Regions from separate parts of the Homo sapiens genome. Here all the other regions are linked to region 1. The links are contacts of gene promoters, found by promoter capture Hi-C in human tissues and cell types (Jung and others, 2019). All regions are on one chromosome and are shown on one strand. Each heading gives the region's core, a stretch centred on a gene start or on the middle of the fragment in contact. The rest is flanking DNA. Distances are from core to core; before and after follow the strand shown.

Region 1 (4,812 bases), core at 1,187-3,686:
ACTGTTCCAAGTTTCGTTTAAGAAATGTGAATGTAAGAAAATCTGGGAATAAATCTAAAATGGTAGATTCTAGGCTAAAAAAACTAAATTAATATTCAAATTTTCAAATAAAGACAGATTAAAAAAACTCATCAAGGGTTCACATAGGTATGGTTCAACATACATTTTTCTTTTTTTGGTAAAATTTAGATATGGTGAAACGCAAAGATAGTATCAATTCAACGAGTTTTGACAAATATATATATCTGTGTAACCAACAATCAGGATAGGAAACATTTCTATCACCTGAAGAAACTCCTATTCTTTCCAGTCAATCTCTACCATCCATAGATAATTTATTTTTTAATATCCAGCTTAATACCTTACTAACATATGCAAACTTAACTCTTTAATCACTTAAATTCCCAACTAAGAGAGCAATTAAGTTATTTATATATACAAATTTTTTTTTTCCTTTTTTACAGATGAGGGGGTCTCACCTATGTTGCCCAGGCTGGACTCTTAATAAGTCCTGGGCTCTAGCAATCCTCTTACCTCAGCCTTTTACACAAACAAAAATAGTTACTGAATTGAACTGCCATAATTTTTAGAACCACTAACATCACCAATACTTTTTAAGGAAGATTATACATTTCTATACGAAAATAACCAGCCAAAACCTTCAAAACTACCTCTATTTTCTGTTAGAAATACCTATCAGCAAAACACACCTATTTTGCGATATCGAGTCAATATTAATACATGCCGCATTAACCATATCATTGACTACAGTGAGGAAAACCCGAGTTTACAAAAACACACTCAGAAACTATTAAAATAGGTAGGTAAAAAATATTAGGTAGATACCTGTACAAATATTACAATGAATTTGGAATTGTAAGCTTTCATGCACACAAAGGGAAAAAAATTTCCTAAATTTGAAGTTTTCATTGAAAAAGTAAATGGCTCAGGGCATTACAAATAAATTTCACAGATTACGTATTCATAAATCAACCTTTGGAAGTCTAGTCCATGTCTTGTCTCTACTCCGCCCCTTACCTTCAAGCTGTCCCTCAGTGAGAATGTACTTGGAACACAACAGAGCATATTACAGCTCAATATCATGCACATACCTACGCTACTCAAAGAAAGCACTGGCAGCGTCACATGTAAGAAACCAAAAAAAAAAAAAGATAATCAATTCTGCATGGCATTTAACATTTTAATTGACAACATTTTTCGTCTTATTTAAAATCGTATAAAACCCAGAAACAGCTTGACTCCAAAGAACTATACCTTTCTAACAAGAAAAGCACATTGGGGACAGAAAGAGAGATTACCCTCCATACCAAAATTTTTCACTTTTATCCTTTACGGTTAGAAAGCCAAGCATCTATTAAGGAGAGGATGAATCCGGGCACAGCCACCACCACGGCCTCTGCCTCTAAAACACATAGGAATCCCCGGACTGTGTGGGAAGGTCTCTTTTCTTTTCTCCCTCCCCTTCAGCAACCTTACAGGATAAGTTTTAAGTCTCGAGCTACAGCACTATGAAGACTTTTCCAAGAAAAGAGATACCAGGGAAGCTGGCCGCCTGTCGCCATGAGTGGTCCGCCCCCTACCCCCACCTGCCCGCGCGGCGCCGGACTCGCGGCTCCGCCTTTCGGGGAGGTCTCCGTGGCCGCCCAGGCGCCACAGCGGGGAGCCGCGGTCGACCCCTCCGGGATGGGGGCCAGGGCAGCCTCCGCGGCTATCCCGGGAGTCCTGCTCCGACACCACCTCCACAGGGGAAGCCGCTCGGAGAGACGCAGGGACCCAGGCAAGGGATGCGGGCAAACGCGCCAAGGGTTCAGCAGAGGGGCGTGACCGCCAGTTGGCCGGGCTGAGCGAGGCGCCAGAGGGAAGCCTGCAAGGTACGTCTGCGAGAGCCGGGTGCGGGCGCGGCAGGGGAAAAGGGGGGCGCTGACTCTCTTACCGCCAGGTCCGGATTGCGGCTGTCCCTGTGTGACACGGCTCGGATGACCCCCGCTCGCCAGCTTCGCCAGCCGCGTCCGCTCTCCCAGCGCTCCGAACGTGCCTCGTCGCCGACCGCCACACACAGGAACCGCTTACCCACCAGCTCTGCCCGCGTCTCTACCGCCATAGCTGTCGCTGCCGAAGCGGCCGCTGCCTCCTCCAGTGCGAGGGAACCGATGAAACCTCACTCCTACCGGCCGCTCATGCTGAGGAGAGCGGACCGGGACACAGCAGCGGACCCGAAAGAGCGCAGACTCGGGACGAACCGGCCGCTCTGCCCCGGACACAGCGACCTCGGGCCCTCCCCGCAAACACTCCTTTGGACTCCCAGATTCGCAGCCTTGTGCTGCAGCGCCACACAAGAAAACTGAAACAAAACCCAACGCGGCCGTCGAAGACCCCGAGGCAGCCCAGCCGCCGCCACCGCGCCGCGGCCAGTACTGCTCCGTCTCCCTCCCCGGGCAGCGGCGGCGCGCAGCGCGTCTCCTTCCGCCGGCGCGGGCGGGGCAGCAGCCGCGGGAGGGTCGGCGGAACCACCGCAGACGGAAAGTAGTGCCCGGCCCTGCGGAGGCGGCAGCGGCCACTGGGTCCGTCCAGATCCAGAGGCGGCGGCGGCGGCGGCAGCGGGAGACGAAAAAATGAAGAGGGCCGCGGGAAAGTAGGCGACAGCTATTCAAAGCTTTTGGGGGTCTACCTTTGTATTCGTTGCTCCCTCAGAGGTGGAGGTGAGGGGAAAGTGAAGTGTAGTGGTTCCACTCTGATCACAAAATAAACTCCTGGGTTGACGCCTCACCCGCGGTTTGATGTTCAGAGCACACAGCGCCCGCCGCCTGAGTTAGCCTGAATTAGCAGTCCCGCAGTAACAGCAGCAGAGCAGGACAACACTTCTACTGAAAACTAAGCCCCAAAGTCACAGCAGAACCAACCGTTCATGACTTCAAGGGAAAACGAGGGGGAAAATGTGATCCTTTCATTCTTCTCATTTGTGGTGATACTAATTACATGTTTAAGCTATTCACAGATTTAAATTCGTCACTGCTTTATTATAAGAACAGCAAATGCTCCGTGGCGGGCCCTTGTCAACGTCCTGAAATTTCACAAACCGTGTCTGCGACAGTCTTAGTACTTTTAGTACTGGTACACAGCTCAAACACACTGGTCAGATAATAAAAGCAGAGAAAATCCCCAGATTCAGTTATTAGAAAATACCATGGAAAGAAAAGGATTTTAGCCAATCACAATTCAAGAAAAAAAATATTTATTTCCCATCCAATTACAATCGGACTCCCTAACCCACACAAAGATCTCTAACTTGGAACAATCACTCTTCTTTGATCAACTTATTTGTTATAAATCAAACCTCCCTACAAATGTCAGTGAGCAGTTCGATTTCAGGCACCCTTTATACTGCTTTTTTATAGGTAGTCCAATATTCTAAATTTCAGTTTCTTGAGATTTTCCTGAACCTCTATTTAAAAAAAAAAAGTTAACAGAGTTTACAGTAGTAATCTGAATGTTTAAAATAACTATAAGGCTTTTATCTGTTTTCTCTAGAACACTCAAGCTGGGCAATTTGAAGTGGAGAAACACAACCACTGCTAATAGGTTAGAAACCAAAATTATAAGGAAGATGGATTTTAATAATCATGGTCAAATTTTGCCAAAGACCAAACATAGAACTGTAATAAATAGGCTGGGCACGGTGCCTCACGCCTGTAATCCCTGCACTTTAGGAGGCAGATCACCTGAGGTCGGGAGTTCGAGACCAGCCTGGCCAACATGATGAAACTAAATGTATTTTTAGTCTCTACTAAAAATACAAAAAATTAGCTGGGCATGGTGGAGCATGCCTGTAATCCCAGCTACTCAGGAGGCAGCAGGAGAATCACTTGAACCTGGGAGCTGGAGGTTGCAGTGAGCCGGGATCGTGCCACTGCACTCCAACCTGGTCAACAAGAGCAAAACTCAGTCCCCCCGAAAACAAACAAACAAACAAAAAACCTGTAATAAATTAAAACAGCAAAACATACCCAAAAATGCATATCGGCAAGTTGAGAGAAAAAATTTTGCTTGGGCAATTTTATTTCCAAGTCCACTTTTTCAGTGTACACTGTATAATACTTAGCAAATTATCTTAAGAATTACAGATGAAGATTTCTAAAATCAGTGTAGATTAAGGAACCAGTAAAGTGACTTGGTGACAATAATTCAACATATGTAAGGATAAAAGAGTAGGGAGATCAACATCCAGATACCAAGTCATCAATGATCTGCTTTGTGACCATGGGCATGATGCAATTGTAAAAATGCAAAAATGCCTGAATCCTAATTTTCAGTGATATCCTAGGAGCAAACGAAAAATACAAATAAAGTCATTTGAGAAAAACATGCAAATTCATCAGTTATTACATAAATCCCACTCACCAAATTACATTCTTAAGAGTATAGGTTGCTAGTTGCCTTATATAAAACTGCCAGCTGTTTTCAATTTTGTAGGCAAACTGCTCTAAATGGGCCCCTGGGAACTCCCACTACATGTTGAATTCCATCCTTTTCAGTCCTCTGAAAAGCATGTAATCCAACAAATCAATCAAAATATTTCATGTATAGAAACAAAGTTTTTCAGGAGGGCATATATCCCCAAAATATTTTTAATCAAGTATCTTAATATTCTTAGAACTCTGGTCCAAATTCTCTTCTACTAATCCCTTGACTACAGCCAATGCCTAGAGTTTACACTAATTTGTGGATATTTTGCTGTTGGAAAAATTTAAAAGTACATTTTTTTAAATGTAGAATAAAAAGTCCTTAAAGATT
Region 2 (4,812 bases), core at 1,523-4,022, 240 kb after region 1:
AATGTTTAGATGTGGTTAGCTCAGATAAGTGCAACACACTGTTGGCAAGGCTGGGCTTGAGTTCTTGTGGCAAAACAACCAGTTAATTTCAGACACAGAAATCCTCTGTGTACCAGCAGAGAGTAATGGCTCAAGCAGAGCCACTTGAGTTTCATAAGACCTACTCCAATTTGCTGTTGATTTGATCTTGAGGGGAGCTAATAAAGGTAGTAAATGAGTCATTTTCCAGCATGATATAACTAGAATTGGTTCTTGGCCCAGAAAGATGTGAGTCAGTTTAGTCCTGACTCAGTTCCCAGTATGATGCACAGTGACTCATTTCCCTATGTGATGTCATGTTTGTTCCTTATAAGATTTGACCTCCTCATTGTTTTGTTGTATTTTTTTAAAAGAAGAAAAGGAGAGTGTTGTAGAATAAGATGAAATACTCCAAGGAATATAGAATCAGACTAATAAATAAAGCCTTGATATTCTCACAATGAGCCTGAAGGAATAATTAAACTTTAAACACCTATATTGTTGTTCCCATCTATTTAGATTATTAATTTCCAAACAGCCTAGCTATTAGGCAACATTTGATTGAAAACATTGCACGTGTAAAAGGAAAAAGAATTGCTATCACAACAATTCAATTATTTGGTAGATACATTTATAAAAGACAGCTGCATTTGAAAAAGTTGACAATAGATGGTCAGATTAAAGAGGACACATGAATGGATCTTTCTAGAAAGATACATTCATTTATACACAGAAGGTAACCAACAATGGAATGTTTCTTATGAAAACCGCATTTTCAAAATATGTAGAATTTTAAAATATACTGTGTAAAAATGGCTTTGTCAACTGTGAATGCAGTTCAGTGTTCATGGCTTGTGTTGGCGATTAAGTTTGGAGGCTGAGGAGAAAAGCAACTAAAGCATCTCCGACATTGTTTGGTGAAATGTATTAACTTTGGTGACCTCCTCAAGGCAGACCAATCTCATCCTCAGTAGGTAACTATACCGATAAAGTCAAAGCTATGTAAGTTAAGGTTTGTTTTAATGGCAAGCAATAGAAACCCCTTTTAACTAACATAAGCCAAAAAGGGAATATTGGATGGTTGAATAAAAGGAGGTGCATAATAACTAAGCCTCAGAGCACTTTGGGGGCCCCTCATTAGGTACTTCTAGACCTTCTATGGTTCTGTTGACTGCTAACCCTGCTCCAACAACCTTCTGTATCTGTTTCTCATAATTTACGTTTCAAATTCCCAGAGGATGATCCACTAATTGGCCTCACTCAGTAGGTGCATCTCCCTTTGGGACAATCATCCCTGACTGAGGGGCTAGCTGCACGATTCCCTCTGGAGAACCGTTATGAGCAGCACATCCCAACTTGTGTCTGTACAGAGACTGTTTTGTTCTCCAACTTCCTTCTCTTCCAGCCCCAGTCATAACACTGTTTTCATCTATCCTGTAGATGAGTGCATTCAAAGTTCTATGTTTACAGAGGTCACCGGGGGATCTCGTTAAAGTGCAGATTCTCATCCAGTAGACTTGGGGCACTACCTGAGATTCTGTATTTATAGTAAATTACCAGGTGATGCCAACAATGCTGGTTCTGGAACTGCGTTTTCAGGAGCAAGCCTGTATTAGGTGTTCTTGATGCCAAACTAGTATCTATTCTCTCCTCCCCCTTTCCTGGTAGCAGAGAAGTCTTTATCTAAGGATCCACTTCCATCCCTATACAGTCCATGTGCTTTGGGGGAAATTAAACACACTCCTAGCGCTCGTGATGGGTACCAATTGCTTTAAGCTAATCAGTCATTCAAGGTGATTTCAATGTCCCAGAACCTGAAACAGTGGCTAATATGTAGTAGGTATTCCATAAATATTTGTTCAATGAATATATGAGTTGATGTGAGCATAAATGTGTGAATTAAGGGCCAGGCGTGGTGGCTTACACCTGTAATCACACAACTTTGGGAGGTCGAGGTGGGCAGATCACTTGACCTCAGGAGTTCGAGACCAACCTGGGCAACATGGTGAAACCTTGTCTCTACAAAAAATACAAAGATTAGCCAGGCATTGTGGCGGGTGACTGTGGTCCCAGCTACTTGGGAGGCCGAGGTGGGAGGATTGCTTGAGTCTGGGAGGTGGAGGTTACTGTGAGCTGAGATCGTACTACTGCACTCCAGCCTGGGTGACAGAGTAAGAACCTGTCTCAAAACAACAACAACAACAACAACAAATATGTCAATTAAACTTACTCGATTTAGGTGAATCTCAGGACACTGGCTGGAATGCTGGTCTAGAAGCCCTCTTTGCCATCAGATGTAACTATTAGAGACTTGATTGTGACTGTCAGCATTTCTACAACCATTGGGAGAGTCAGCCTTAAAAAAAGGCTGACACGGCTGGGCGCAGTGGCTTAACGCCTGTAATCCCAGCACTTTGGGAGGCCAAGGCCGGTGGATCACGAGGTCAGGAGTCCAAGACCAGCCTGGGCAAGATGGTGAAACCCCGTCTCTACTAAAAATACAAAAATTAGCCAGGTGTGGTGGAGGGTGCCTGTAATCCCAGCTACTAGGGAGGCTGAGGCAGAGAATTACTTGAACCCAGGAGGTGGAGGTTGCAGCGAGCCGAGATCATGCCACTGCACTATAGCCTGGGCAACAGAGTAAGACTCCATCTCAAAAAAAAAAAAAAAAGGAAAAAGCTGACATGGCTGGGCGCCGTGGCTCACGCCTGTAATCCCAGCACATTGGGAGGCTGCAGCAGGCGGATCACCTGCGGTAAGGAGTTCGAGACAGCCTGGCTGACATGGCGAAACCCCATCTCTACTAAAAATACAAGAAAAATTAGCCGGGTGTGGTGGCGGGCACCTGTAATCCCATCTACTTGGGAGGCTGAGGCAGGAGAATCACTTGAATCCAGGAGGTGGAGGTTGCAGTGAGCTGAGATAGTGCCATTGCACTCCAGCCTGGGCAACAAGAGCGAAACTCCATCTCAAAAAAAAAAAAAAAAAAAAGAAAAAGAAAAATGCTGACACTAGTGAAGGTAGGACAGAGAGAGAGAAATGGGCCATTGATAGCATCATTAAAACACTGGATTAACTACTCTATGCCCACCCTAACAATTATGTGAAACAATAAATTCCCTTCAATTTTAAAGCCAGTTTTAGTTGGATTTTCTGTTACAACACAAAGAGTCTTAATCAACAATGGGGAAATGACTTATTCCATTCCTAGGCCATCCCACTTTGGTACAATGTGGGTTCCTTCATAGTCACCCTGGTCAGAAAACACCAGGATCAGAAGGCGTTCCAAAATACCCCTTGGTATGAATTTAGAAACAGGCTTTATTGTAGAAACATACAAAGCAAGTGTCAGCAGGCAAAAGAGTCATCTACAATCTCCCAGCCTTTCATGAATCCAAGAAAATGAATCTTTTAGAATATGGCAAGTTATGTTTTAGGGGAAGGACTCTACCTCCTTATTGCTTTCCATGTGGAGAGAGGATCAGAACAACTTATCAGTGGGGATGGAAATAGGTACTGGGGCACCAGGCAGTCTGAGTTATGTGTTAGATGTTCTGAGAAGTTGTCTGGGAAAGCCAGCTTTCCAGTTCTGGAGATTTGAGGACTGTGGAGAGTGGTAGCTCATATGAGTAGGGTGGGAAAGAAACTGCCAGTTCTGTGGGAAGCTAAATTTAGGGCAGCCCACCCCACTGGGAGAAGGGGGGAAGCCCCTGTTCCACTTGGCTTGTCCAAGCCACCCCAAGTGACCTCCCAGAGTCCCTTTTAGACAACTTTGCTTGTCATACACCAAACTAAACCCTTGACCCAGCCAGTTGCTTAAAATCCTTCATCTGCTTCACCACTGCCTTCAGGGTAAAGTCCAAGGAGTTGGTTGTCCGAGAGTCACCATCTGGCCCAACCCAACTATTTGGTCTTTCCGTGTCACCCTCCACCTTATACTGTAAACTCCAACTGTCCTGGATGACCTGCTGTGCTCCAAGCATTTCATGTAACAAAAGCTTTCAGTGTCTGGAAGACTTTTGCACCATGCGTCTTCCTGGAATGTATCTTGCTGAGCACTCTGTCCCCCAAATTTTGTCATGATCAAAGCCTGCTCATCATCTGTTTCAGCTCCACTGTTTCTCTCTCTGGAAAACATTCCCAGATCTTTAATCCCCATACCCTGCATAATTAATCATTGCTTCCTCAGAGTTCCCATGGCACTTGGTTCACACTGCTAGCATGCACTTATCACCTTGTTAAGCAACACATCCACGGCCTCCCCTAGATTACCAGTTTCCTGAGCACAGAGACCTTGTCTTACTTGTCTTTACAGCTTAAGCCGTACTGGGCTGCTCTCCATGGGACTGAGCCTGCTGGCCGCACTGTGGCATCCTGCCCTTTATTCTGTATTAGGGAGCATACCTTACGGCCAAGGCTTACTGAGCAGTTGTACAGGCCTTTCCCTGGTGATAAGAGAATCTGAAGAGGACTAGGTACACCTTGTCAAAATGCTGGAATTTGTATCCAGGTTGGAGAGTGCCTAACACATTTGGGAAGAAACAAAATTGGGGTAAGAAGCAGCCCGATTTTTTAAAATAAGTTCTTAAAGGGTCAGTGGGACCGAATGCCTTGAGGAATAGCTACTGATACAGAAGATGACCTAGTTTGTAAAAAGAACAGCATAATATTTTAAATAAAGGTTTTCCTCCTTTTGACCTTTTTCCAGTATGACTGTATTGCTGTTAACTTTATTACTGAAGCTTAATGCCCACGATACCAGGAAGCACTTCTAGAAACAGCTGTGAATGTGGC
Region 3 (4,812 bases), core at 1,181-3,680, 190 kb after region 1:
TCAATGCTCCCCTAGCTCATGTCTGAGGAATTGAATGAATAACATAGGGGAGGTTAGCGCCCAATATGACATCAGCTCAATAAGCTGATCAGCCTGAAGCTGAACTTGGCTGGCAGAGCTTGTTTTCCTTCCCCTGCTTCACTAAGTTATAGGTTTTACAGGAATAAGGATGTTGTCTTCTTCCTTTGCAATTTTGCAAACATATATGCCAACTGCCTAACTGATTGATAATATTACTAACTATATACTTATGAAGTGGTTTGGACTTTATGGAAGACTATTTTAGGTAATATAAATTCTTTAGGATGCAAACACAATTTTCTTAACCCAAAAGACAAAAATTCCCATCTTCTTCGTTGAGAAACACTAAGTAATGCATGATAATTACAACCAATAAGATATTGCTGAGTGCATAGTCTATGCTAGGCATTGCTCTAAATAATTCAGTATAGTCTCTTTTCCTACCATAGCACGCCAGCCATTGAAATGTATATAGAAGAACTAATGTAGTGAATGGGCCGTGTTAAATAATTTTATTGTTTGTTTATTAACACATTTAACAGAGAAGTCTGGCTTCACCTTCCTTTTCTTTACTTCTTAGGGTTGGAAACAATGCCATGTGAGCAGAAGAGAAATTGCTTTCATCCCTTTTTCTACCTGATGGTCTTATATTATGATATGGTTTGGCTGTGCGCCCACCCAAATCTCATCTTGAATTGTAGTTCCCATAATCCCCGTATGTCATGGGTGAGACCTCATGGGAGGTAAATAAATTATGGAAGTGGTTCCCCCATGCTGTTCTCATGATAGTGAGTGAGTTCTCATGAGATCTGAATGGTTTTATAAGTGGTTTTTCCCCGCTTTGCTCTGCACTTCTCTCTCCTGCCACCATGTGAAGAAGGATGTGTTTGCTTCCCCTTCTGCCCTGATTGTAAGTTTCTGGAGGCCTCCCAAGCCATGCGGAACTGTGAGTCAATGAAACCTCTTTCCTTTATAAATTACCCAGTCTCAGGCCAGGCACAGTGGCTCACGCCTGTAATCCCAGCACTTGGGGAGGCTGAGGTGGGCGGATTGCCTGAGGTCAGGAGTTCGAGACCAGTCTGGCTAACATGGTGAAATCCCGTCTCTACTAAAAATACAGAATTAGCCAGGCATGATGGCGTGTGCCTGTAATGCCAGATACTTGGGAGGCTGAGGCAGGGGAATTGCTTGAACCAGGGAGGTGGAGGTTGCAGTGGGCCAAGGTCACGCCACTGTACTCCAGTCTGGGCGACAGAGCAAGACTCCATCTCAAAAATAAATAAATAAATAAATAAATAAATAAATAAATAACCTAGTCTCTGGTATTTCTTCATAGCAGTTTGAGAATGGACTAATACATATTATAATATCCTTATTTTCCTGATGAAGAAGTTGAGGTTCAGAGAAGTTAAGGTCCCATGGGTAGTAAATGTTTAAGTCAGGCTTATATGGTAATTTATCTAATTCCAGAGTCCATGGTCTTGACAAATATACTATAAACTGCCTCTAATGTTTATTAAAGTTTATAATAATTGGCAGTGGCTTTTTAAATTATTTTTGAAGAGTTACCTTTACATTTAAAAAAAATAAAATCAAGGTAATATTTAAAAGAATGTTAAGACAAGAATCTGGAAACATGAGTTCTAACCAGAACCTATCATGAATGAGGGGAAACCTGGAAATTACTTAACTTCTATTCTCAATTAGGTATCCATATAAAAATTTTATTATTTTATTCCAAGGCTCTTATAAACAACTTTACAGAAAAATTAAAAAGTTATCTAGTGGTTCATCTGTACCTTGTCTCTACACATATATTTTTAAAATTTGTTGTAATCACTGTATCAGTGCTATTTTGTGATTGCTTTGTAATTTTTATTTTCTAAATTATGAAAGCCAGAGAATAGTGATTTAGAATAAATTATCATAAAAAAGAACTAATCTAGATAAACAGTGCTATGGCCTGAATTTTTGTGTCCATCCAAAATTTAACCCCCAAGGTGATGGCATTAGGAGGTGGGGCCTTGGGAGGAAATTGGGACATGAGAGCAGGGCCCTCATGAATGGGATTTGTGCCTTTATAAGACACCCCACAGAGCTCCCTTGCTCCTTCCACCATGTGAGGACTCAGCAAAAGATGGCCATCTATAAACCAAGCAGGCCCTCCCCAGGCACAGAATCTACCAGCTCCTTCATCTAAGGCTTCCCAGCCTCTAGACTATGAGAAATAAATTTCTATTGTTTATAAACCACTCCATTTACAGTACTTTATAATAGTAACCCAAACAGACTAAGACGGGAATTTTTAATTCGACTGCACATTAGAAACACCTGGATGGGGATGGTGGGGGTGAGTGGGGGTAATTTTGAAAAAATACGGTCTTTGGCCAGGCACAGTGGCTTATGCCTGTAATCCCAGCACTTTGGGAGGCTGAGGCTGGTGGATCACTTGAGGCCAGGAGCTCGAGACCAGCCTGGCTAACATGGTGAAAGCCCATCTCTACTAAAAATACAAAAATTAAATGGGCTTGGTGGCGTGTGCCTGTAATCCCAGCTACTTGGGAGGCTGAGGTGGGAGAATTGCTTGAACCCAGGAGGCGGAGGCTGCAGTGAGCTGAGATTGTTCCACTGTACTCCAGCCTGGGCGACAGAGCAAGACTCTGTCTCAAAACAGACAAACAAAAAAATGGTCTTGGAGCAATAAACCAATTTTATCAGAATCTCAGGAGTGGGGACTGGACATCAATATTTTTAAAATGCCCCTCTCTCCCATTATTTTAATATGTAGCTGAAGTTTATATTATAGTTATATACTGCAAGTACTTTTGCTCCAGCCTAATAACTGGTCATCTAGAATAGATCATTGTTTATTGCATTATGATCTCTGATAACTGCTCAACTGCCTTCTCAAAAGTCAACTAACTCAGTAATACAGGAGTCTAATGTACCATCAATTATTAATCCCAAACAATACTTCCTTATTCTAATAGTACAAGTTAGGTTCAAAATACTTCTTGTTCAATAACAATTTCAAGTCAGCCATTATAGTTTGTTTAATGGCTATATTAATCTCTGAGTCCTTAATAATTATAGAAGTAGAATGGTTCCCTGAGTACTAGATATTTGTAATGTGAAAGGAAGATAAGGAGCATCTGGCAGTCTGAAAAAAAGTTGGGGTAATCCCAGCACTTTGGGAGGCTGAGGTGGGTGGATCACCTGAGGTCAGGAGTTCAAGACCAGCCAGACTAACAAGGTGAAACCCATCTCTACTAAAAATACAAAAATTAGCTGGGCATGGTGGCAGGTGCCTGTAGTCCCAACTACTCGGGAGGCTGAGACAGGAGAATCGCTTGAACCCGGGAGGTGGGGGTTGCAGTGAGCTGAGATCGCACTACTGCACTCCAGCCTGGGTGATGGAGCAAGACTCTGTCTCAAAAAACAAACAAACAAAAAAGGTGTGGGTTGAGGGTTTGAGTTTTGAAGCTCCCTTTTGAATTCTACGTTGGTTTATTTTGAAATCTTTATTTTAAAAGTAAAACAATGACATAACTTTACGTTTTTTCTCCCAAATTCTTCAGTTCCTAAATGTCAGAAGTTACCTCCACAGTGAAATGGGACCCAGAGATTTTCATTAATTAATCTCCAGGAAATTCAGCAGTAAAACTTAAATTTATATTCAATGATATGGAAACTCTCCTATCACCAGAGGACTTTGAAAGCCATGGTGAATGAGATCCACTTCTAGATCAGGACACAAAGGAGACTCAGCTGTTTGGATGGCTGATTAAAGGAATCATCTGAAATTCCACAGTCATAACATTGGAAAACAGACATGGTTGTAACTTATTTATTTACTTAACCATCTGATCTCAGGCACGAGAGGAAAGAACATTATTATATAATTCACAAATGGGCCTGCAGTTCATTGCACCTGATATATTCGAAAGGCTTATTTGGGCCCATCCTGCTGCCCAAGAAGGCCCACTCTCTGGTCAGAGTGCAGTCATTGGCCATGGCGCCACTGATAGAGGTCAATCTGAGAACCATCTAGGGAATGAGGACCAGGGAAAAGGCTCCCCTAACCCTCCATCTGGTGTGAACTGCCTGCCAGAACACATGGAGAACCCTCCCTCTGGGAGCTGCAGCACTCGAGCAGCAGCAAGGAAAGAAAAAGCCAGGTGTAGCCAGTGTTGCTTAAGGTCTTTCTGCTTGTTTATCACCTTTGGCCTCTTATTTGTAACCCTACTGTGGATAATAGAATTAAATGTAAATAGACACATGCTCTCTTTAGAGAAGAGGTGGTGTCCTCCAACCATTCCTCCTCTTATGTAGATATACTGTGTATCTTTTTGGCTCTGTGCTCCCATCATTTCATTTTTATTTGCCTGTGTTGAGACCTGGTTCCTGGATTTCAAAGTGCTGTCATGAGAGACAGCAAAAGAAAAGACTCCTCATAGGTCAGGATCCTGCTGAAAGAGGGCACTTATGTAATCCGATGGTCTTTTTGGTGGTCACTTTTATTCTCCACTTCAATCTGAAGTAGCCTTTGATGAGAAAGCTGCTGAAAAGCAGGAGAGTGAAAAACCATTTCTAAAACTATGAGGGTACTTTTGTTCTATGTGAAAAGTCTTCACTGAAGGTTAAGGGAGGTCCGAAAAGGCTGAGGAGGAGACCTCCACATTGGAAGTTATGATGGCAATGGCCATTGCTGATTTTGTTGAATTCACTTATTGTAATATACCGTACTGAATCCATACTCATCTACCTATGGCTGGTAAGATAATGTGATTA

What was found. Contacts are between HindIII fragments. The study calls those that stand out against the background at their distance.
Region 2: a fragment that was not itself captured here is called in contact with the fragment with the promoter of JMJD1C in region 1 in 2 of the 25 tissues and cell types used here (dorsolateral prefrontal cortex and spleen).
Region 3: a fragment that was not itself captured here is called in contact with the fragment with the promoter of JMJD1C in region 1 in 1 of the 25 tissues and cell types used here (aorta).

What each region holds. Positions count from the first base shown.
Region 1 is chr10:63,463,541-63,468,352 of GRCh38, forward strand. JMJD1C (jumonji domain containing 1C) reads right to left here and starts at 2,437. Exons shown (of 26, transcript NM_032776.3): 1 at 1,955-2,437. The coding sequence starts at 2,122. It overlaps JMJD1C-AS1 (JMJD1C antisense RNA 1), which reads left to right and starts at 1,689. Exons shown (of 1, transcript NR_027182.1): 1 at 1,689-3,023. RefSeq lists silencers at 1,550-1,889, 2,430-2,579 and enhancers at 1,669-2,458, 2,080-2,149, 2,230-2,399, 2,850-2,899. The HindIII fragment of the contact is 6,698 bases long and covers 1-4,812 here.
Region 2 is chr10:63,707,228-63,712,039 of GRCh38, forward strand. No RefSeq gene overlaps it. Among named protein-coding and RNA genes, the nearest start is that of REEP3, 190 kb to the left of the region's middle. RefSeq lists an enhancer at 1-885. The HindIII fragment of the contact is 3,232 bases long and covers 1,157-4,388 here.
Region 3 is chr10:63,653,903-63,658,714 of GRCh38, forward strand. All of the region lies in intron 2 of LOC107984238 (a long non-coding RNA gene), which reads right to left. LOC101929846 (a long non-coding RNA gene) reads left to right here. Exons shown (of 3, transcript XR_946008.3): 3 at 602-793. Among named protein-coding and RNA genes, the nearest start is that of REEP3, 130 kb to the left of the region's middle. The HindIII fragment of the contact is 8,568 bases long and covers 1-4,812 here.